Regions from separate parts of the Homo sapiens genome. Here region 1 is linked to region 2. The links are contacts of gene promoters, found by promoter capture Hi-C in blood cells and fetal thymus (Javierre and others, 2016). All regions are on one chromosome and are shown on one strand. The core of a region is centred on a gene start or on the middle of the fragment in contact, and the rest is flanking DNA. Distances in the headings are between cores, read along the strand shown. Region 1 holds the start of ZBTB8A (zinc finger and BTB domain containing 8A). Region 2 holds the start of SYNC (syncoilin, intermediate filament protein).

Region 1 (3,917 bases), core at 849-3,348, 160 kb before region 2:
GGAAGCTTGGTGTACGATGAATGCTTGCATTGGAAAAGACGCAACTTGCTATTTTTACTAATTTTATATTTCTCTGGACTTAACTAAGAATTATGTTCTCTTATCTCAGCCTCTCTGGGTTTTCCTATTCAAATGAAATGCTTCTGACCTGTACAGGTTTAGAAAAGGTTATCCTCAACTAAAATAACTGCTTCAGTACAAGGGAAAATTCTGTGGAAATCTTTTGCATTTGACGTTGCTAAACTTAAGTACAATAATGTCACATGTACTTATACAGTAATTGTGGGCACGCCTAAGTCCCTCCCTCTTTCCTAAACCAAATCCCCAGATCCTAGAAATCCAGCCCTTCTGCCCTCCGGAGGCGCCTTTCCCAACGTAAAGTACAATTTTAAATTTCAGCTCCTGACTAAAATCATGATCCGCAGTCAACTGCTAGAGAATCTGGGCACCCCGGTGTCTCTGGAGCGTGCAGCGAGTGTGGGCAAGGGCAGGGGGAGTGGGCGAAGCTGCTGGTTGGTGCCTGAAATCTGTGCGTTGCCCCTTTAATTGTGTCCCCAGCCCTCGGGCGTTTCTGTCCAACGCCCACGTCAGCAAATACCTTTTGTTTCTCTCACGTTGGGGCTACTTGTTTTAGGGCGCAAAGGAACGGCCTCGAAAGGGGGTCCTTCCCCAGCCGAGAACCAGGAATCTTCCCTCGGCCCGCGCGCGCGACCGGCCGGTGCGCCGCGGCCCGCGGTAAGTGGCTGCACGCGGCGCCGGCGGAGGGCGGGCGGGCGTCGGGGCTGCCCGGGACCCGCCGCGAGCCTGGCCGCGGGCTCTGACGGCCCGGGCGGCGGCAGTGCTGGGATGCGGGCCCCGGGCGCGCCTCCCCCAGACGTCCCCGGGCCGGGAGCGCGGCGGGAGGCGCCCGGGAGGGGCTGCGGGACAATGGCCGCGCCGTCGCCGCCCGCGCCCGCCTCGCCGCCCGGCCCGGCCCGGGGAAAGGCGGGAAGGCGCGCGGAGCCTCCTGGAGGCGGCGGCGGGAAGGCGGCGGGGACGGCGCCGGGCGTGTCTGGAGCCGTCGGGCGCCGCGGACTCTGGAGGGGCTCGGGCTGCGCGGAGCAAAGACGGGCGGCCGCCGCGGGGGCGCGCGGGGAGGGCAGGGCAGGGCCGGGGCCGGAGTCTCTGCGGGCGCGGCCAGGGGCGCTGCCGGGGAACCTGGCTCCCAGGGCAGTAGCCCGAGTTTCTCGGTGCAGCCTCCATCCTTGGTTTTATGTCAAGATGCGACATCTGGGCTTAGAACCGAGGGCGAACTCACCGCGCCTAACCAATGTTGAGCTCCCAACTATTTGCTTCTGGACGGAACCTTACATGCTCATCTCTACCCATGCGGACCGCCTCTTTTGTGAGTTAGTCAGCGGCTTGTTCCCTTCCCCTTCAGATGCGCTTATGTATCCCCGATTGTTCCAATGGCCCTACTCCACATCATTCTAAGACGCGTTTGGAAGCGGTAGATTCACACACACCTGGTGGGCTTCTAACCACACACGTCAATATCACCTCTATGCTTGATAAACCTTTATAGTTGCACAACTTTAAATGGAGTGCTTTCACCTATATGAATTATTTCACTTAATTTCACATAAAACAACCACCTAGTCAGGCTGACGGTAATTCCACTTTGCAGATGAGGGAACACGTATGAAGCATGGCGTTTCACCTCTAGGCTAGGGTGACCATAGCCGCCCAGGGCCTCCTGTTCCCGCCCTGCCTTCCCTCCTAAGGCACCTCCAGAGGAGTCTTTAGAAGGGCCAGTCTTAACACAGCGCTTCCCTGCTCTAAAAACCTTAACTGATCTTTTTCAGGAAAGCCTCCAAAATCCTCAACAAGCTTCTGCTCCAGTCTTATCTCCTCCATGCCTCAGGTATGGATGCGTTTGTAGACTGGAGCAAGAGCCCCTCACTGATAAGCAGGGATCAGATGTCTTTATTCCTGGGAACCTCTCTGGCCACACAAGTGGCAACTGGGAAGTGAGAATCTGGCTTAGGGCCCTTGATCAAATGGGTGTCTGGGTGGATTGTGCTCTAAAATGTCAGCAGGAGGCATAATGAGTAGGGACTCCAGGAAGGAGGCCACACCACTAACCCTTATCTCCTAGCCCTGAAATCACCAGCTTCGCTGTTGATAATGATTTGGGGCCATCAAAAACTTTGTAAGATAGAGTAATTTAATTCATCGTATGTCATTTAAATCTAATTTTTAGATAAAACTGTGTAATAGACTTAACTCAGTGACACAATGATATGTTAATCATATTTAAAGATTTGATGTGTTTGATTCCCTTGAATGAAGCTTTTGCCACTTTTCTGCTCAAAATTGGTCAGTGGCTCCCCATCTTACGCAGTTTAAAAGCCAAAAGCTCCATAATAGTCTATGCAGCCTTACAAGCACCTGGTCTCACCATGTCCTACTTCTCTCATGATCTGCTTTCCCTTTCTGACTCCATATCCCATTGCTTCCCCCATGCCTCCTTGCCTGCTCACCTCAGGGCCTTTGCACTTGCCGTTCCCTTTGCCTGAAATGCTCTTCCCCCAGACACCCACATGACTCTCTTACTTCCTTTGGACTTTACCCAAATGCCATCTTCTCAATGAGGCTTTCCTCAACTATAGTTTTGATTCTCTTAAGTGTTTTTATTAATTCTAAATCTTTTCTGTCTCAGGCCATTTGTGCAGCTATAAAAATACTTTGGGACTGGGTAATTATAAAGAACAAATTTATTTCTCACACTTCTGGAGGCTGAGAAGTTTAGGCAGTTTGGTGTCTAGTGAGGGCTGCTCTTTGCTTCCAAGATGGCACCGTGTTGCTGCATCCTCTGGATGGGAGGACTGCTGTGTCCTCACGTGGCAGAAGGAATGGAAGGGCAGAAGAGGCTAAACTCACTCCCTCAGGTGCTTTTATAAGGGCACTAATTCCATCCATGAGGGCAGAGTCTTCGTGGCCCAATCACCTCCTAAAGATGATACCGTTGCAATCGGGATGAAGTTTCAACATGAATTTTGGAGGGGACACAAATGTTCAAACCATAGCTCTTAAATGTTTTTAATACAGACGATCACTGACTTACAATGGCTTGACTTACGATTTTTTGACTTTACAGTGCGTTTAATGGGGTATTAAATGCATTTTAAACTTACAATGTTTTCAACTTAAAATAGGTTTATTGGAATGTAACCCCATCGTCAGTTGAAGAGCATCTGTACTTAATTCTAAATCTTCCAAAGCTGAAGGATCATTTATCCATCAAGGAATACAGTTACCACTCTAGTTAGCTGAAGTTCTTTATGACTCAGGAACGTTTGCTAAGCAGGCTAACAAGATTAGTTTTGCTGACCCTGGTGGGACACATTAAATTTTAGATTAATGACTATATATCTTAAAAGAGTTGATCTTCCCAGCCGAGTGTGGTGGCTCACACCTATAATTCCAACACTTTGGGAGGCCAAGGCCTCGGGGGTCGGGGGGGCGGGGTGTGGATCACGAGGTCAGGAGTTCGAGACCAGCCTGGACAAGAAGGTGAAACCCCATCTTCTTTACTAAAAATACAAAAATTAGCACACAGTGGCAGGCACCTGTAATCACAACTACTCGGGAGGCTGAAGCAGGAGAATCACTTGAACCTGGGAGGCAGAGGTTGCAGTAAACCGAGATTGCGCCACTGCACTCTAGCCTGGGCGACAGAGCAAGACTCCGTCTCAAAAAAAGAGAGTTGATCTTCTCAACGACAACCTTAGTTCAAGTTACACTCGCTACTTAAATCTTCAGTCTACTCATAGAAATACATGTCATTGGCTTCTATTCCAAAGACTTTCGAACTTAATGGTTCCTAAAATGTGTAATTGTCTTTCCCAACCACCTTTTTAAAGATCATTGAACTT
Region 2 (3,454 bases), core at 710-3,209:
GGCTGGAGAAGGCCTGCAGTATTTACCACCCTCCTAGGATAGGCGTGAGGTCCAAAAGAGGTAACTACAGCACATATAAAAAGCCTGGCATGCAGCAGTCACAATATACTTTTTTTTTTTTTGAGATGGAGTTTCACTCTTGTTGCCCAGGCTGGAGTGCAATGGTGTAATCTCCGCTCACTGCAGCCTCTGCCTCCTGGGTTCAAGCAAGTCTCCTGTCTCAGCCTCCCAAGTAACTGGGATTACAGGCACACGCCACCACGCCTGGCTAATTTTTGTATTTTTAGTAGAGCCGGGTTTCACCATGTTGGCCGGGCTGGTCTTGAACTCCTGACCTCAGGTGATCCGCACACCTCGGCGTCCCAAAGTGCTGGGATTACAGGCGTGAGCCACCGCGCCGGGCCCACAATATACTTCTATCTATCTAACAAATTTCTACTCATCCTTCAAGCCCTGCTCAAACTTCATCTCTTCCGTAAAGTATCTCCCAGACAGCCCCATGTGTGTTCTCAGGGCACTCTGTATGCAGCACATCTTCACACTTATTGCTCCAGTTACAGAAGTACATGTGTCTGTCTCCCTGATAGTGAGTTTCCTAAGGACAAGCAGAGTTCTCATTCTGCTCTATATCCTAGGGTGGGGCTCTGTAAGGGCAGACAGGCAGAAACCAGATGAACTCCAAGGAGGAAATCTGCCCAAGGTCGAATGGCAAAGCTGGAAGTAAAACCCAGGCCTCCTGACCTCCAAGCTGTGCTGTTAGCACACATCGTGCTGCCTCCACCACCCCACCCATGGTGCCAGGCCTCTGCTGGGTGCTGCCCTCACACAGCCGCCTCTTTTAAACAGAGAGAGGAGGGAAAGAAGCAGATGACAGGAGGCTCAGAGGAGAGGAAGCCAGCTTAGTTGGGGCCCCTGACCTCGGGCTTCCTTGGGCCCTGGGCAGCCTGCCTCTGCCACTCTGTCCCTGTCCCCAGAGAACCGCAGAGCTCTCCAACCCTGTTCAGGGATGTGGCTGGGAGTCCATGTGACATTGTGCAGGCAAGAGTCCGTGTGTCTGACTGTAGCTGTAGGTGTGGACAGCAGTATGGGTGAGTGTGTGTGTGTAAGACCGCTCAGCTTTGTGCCCCTGTGTGACAGTGAAGGGGTGTCGGGAGCTATGTATTTGCACCCTCACCTCTTGGTACACTGGGAAGTCCCAGAGCCACAGTATGACCTGGGACAGAAATACACCTCACCCCAAACCCCTCAGCCACAGGTCCCTTCCCCCAATAATCAGCCGTGCCCTGCCAGGAGGGATAGTGGGGAGGGCCCCTGGACCCTTCCCCCACCCATCCCAGGCCAGACGGGAGAGAACAAGCCCTGACAGACTCTTAACTTCAAGCTGGCAGATGCCCAGCCTTGCACCAAGTGGCTTCCACACAGCCACTTCAGCAGGGGAGGCCTCTGTCTCCAACTGACATTTGCAGGGAGGAATGAAGGCTAGCGAGAAGTGTCTTTGGCTGCTATGGGCCAAATGGCACTTGAGCGGTGGATGCCCACTCGCCTGGAAGGGTTAATTTTCATGTAGTCCCGGGAGGGGGAGGGGTATTATAAAAAGCCACAGACAAACGGAGGTGCCAGGACCCCGGGACGGCCCGACTCCCCGATGTCCCCTCACGAGGCGGCTCCAGTGCCCCACCCCGGCTGGACCACTACCCCTAGACAGGCGAAAGACGCCCGCGGTCGGGGGGAAAGGGAACCCGTCCAGCAGCACCCCTTCCCCAGCGGGGCGGCGACGCGGGCCCGGCACTGTCCTACCTCGCGGCCTGGGCGGCGCCGTCCCCGCCGCGCCGGGGCTCCGGGCTGGCCATGGCTGCGCGACCCCGGGCTGGCGGCCGCGTTATTAATAGCCGGGCCCGCGGGCCCCTCGCTCCGGCGCCCGCGCCCGCCGCACTGCCAGCTGCAACCGACACCGGATCCCGGCCGGCCCCGGGCCGGGCGCGCCCACTTGGCCGGGGCTCCTGCCGGGGGAGGAGGGAGCGGCCGCGCGGACCTGGGGGCGGGGAGAGGCTGCCCCTCCCGGACCAGCCTGGGGCGGGGGTGGGAACGGGGGCCTGGAGCTGTCTTTCCAAACCTCCCAGCCCCCTCGTCTTCCCGAACCTTCTCTCCACCCTTCCTTTCGTGAGGTCCCGTTGCAGGGGGAGTCAGAAGGGGGGTCTGAAGCCCCAGGGAGCACCTTCCCTGTCCAGCCTGGGAGGGTGGAGGCAGGGTTGGGCGGGCTGCTCAAAGGGAGCCAGCACCCCTCTCCCGCGAGTGTTTGGGGGTGTCCGCTGCCGCTCAGCGCCCTCTGGTCCCCACCCAAGAGGGGAAGGGCCGCAGCCACCCTCTGGGCACTCCGGGCTGTCCCCGGCAGCTGTCGTGAAGGGCGGGGCAGGGCGCGGCCGGGGAGGAGGGTTCACGGCCACACCCCGCGCGTTTGGGGACAGCCTGGAGCCTGGGGGCGGGCTGGGTGGCTGGGGTTAGAGAGAACTGCGGAGGAGTTTACGCCTATCACATTGAGTCCATATTTAACCCCACTTTCTGCCCCACCCTTTGAGGCTTCCTGGGGTCTCTCTCCTGCTCCACCTGTCACCCCACTCAGCCCACTTCTGTCAACTTCAAGACATACCTCCCCCCACGTCCTCAGCCCACTAGTGTGAGGGTCAAACCAGCACTGACGTCTTTCTCCCCAAGAGAGAAGCTGCTGGGCCCCTTCCCAGACCTGGGCTTCAGGCGTTCTTCCTTCGGATTCCTTTTTCCACTTAGCTACCCTGTCTGGGGAGGTCTTTGACTCAATCGCAGAAGAATGCTGGCACCATAACAAGCCCCAGGGGCTGGGGTGCCTGGGAGGCCGGTGGGGGAAGCATGCCGTGGTGTTGAATGTGTGTGGGCTTGTGTGCCCCTGTGTGACTCTGCGGTGATTGTGGGGTACATGTCTGTGTGTGAGCATGTGGATGTGTGATTGTGTGATCTCAGGGTGAATGTGTGTGGTGATTGTGCCATGGTGGAGTGTCTTTGTGGGGCTGGCGGTTTTGACTCTGTGTGGGGGGCATGCATATGGTCCCGCTTGTGACTCTGACTGTGTGCTTGTGCGTGACTGGGGGTTGATAAATGTTCATTCATCCTCGCGTCTGAGTGTGCTGCCTGTGGCTGTATATTTATATTTCTCTGTCTAATGCAAGGGGGTGGAAGATTTAACACCCAGGGCAGCCAAATATACCCTTGTAAGGTACGCACGAGAAAAAGCCAGGTTTTGAGGCTGCTGGTCATTTTCTGACTTACCCCCGAACTATTCCAGGGGAGGAGGCTGGCGAAGCCTCAGCTGCTGGGCATTTGACATCTGCTGCCCGCCAGAGGAGAGCTAAGGCAGCAAGGGCAGGCCTGCCAGAGGCTCTGTTTGCTGTGGTACCAAGCAACAGGCGGCAAGGGTGGCATT

The links. Contacts are between HindIII fragments. The CHiCAGO score rates a contact against its expected background, and 5 or more counts as called.
Region 1: a contact is called between a fragment that was not itself captured here and the fragment with the promoter of SYNC in region 2, in 1 of 17 cell types (M1 macrophages). The highest score is 5.1, in M1 macrophages.

What each region holds. Positions count from the first base shown.
Region 1 is chr1:32,538,838-32,542,754 of GRCh38, forward strand. It overlaps ZBTB8A (zinc finger and BTB domain containing 8A), which reads left to right and starts at 590. Exons shown (of 5, transcript NM_001040441.3): 1 at 590-735. It overlaps LOC124903952 (a long non-coding RNA gene), which reads right to left. Exons shown (of 2, transcript XR_007065669.1): 2 at 2,739-2,992. RefSeq lists a silencer at 953-1,322. The HindIII fragment of the contact is 462 bases long and covers 1,868-2,329 here.
Region 2 is chr1:32,700,811-32,704,264 of GRCh38, forward strand. SYNC (syncoilin, intermediate filament protein) reads right to left here and starts at 1,960. Exons shown (of 5, transcript NM_030786.3): 1 at 1,798-1,960. The coding sequence starts at 1,850. RefSeq lists enhancers at 1,428-2,193, 2,194-2,959 and silencers at 2,320-2,369, 2,420-2,509. The HindIII fragment of the contact is 11,042 bases long and covers 1-3,454 here.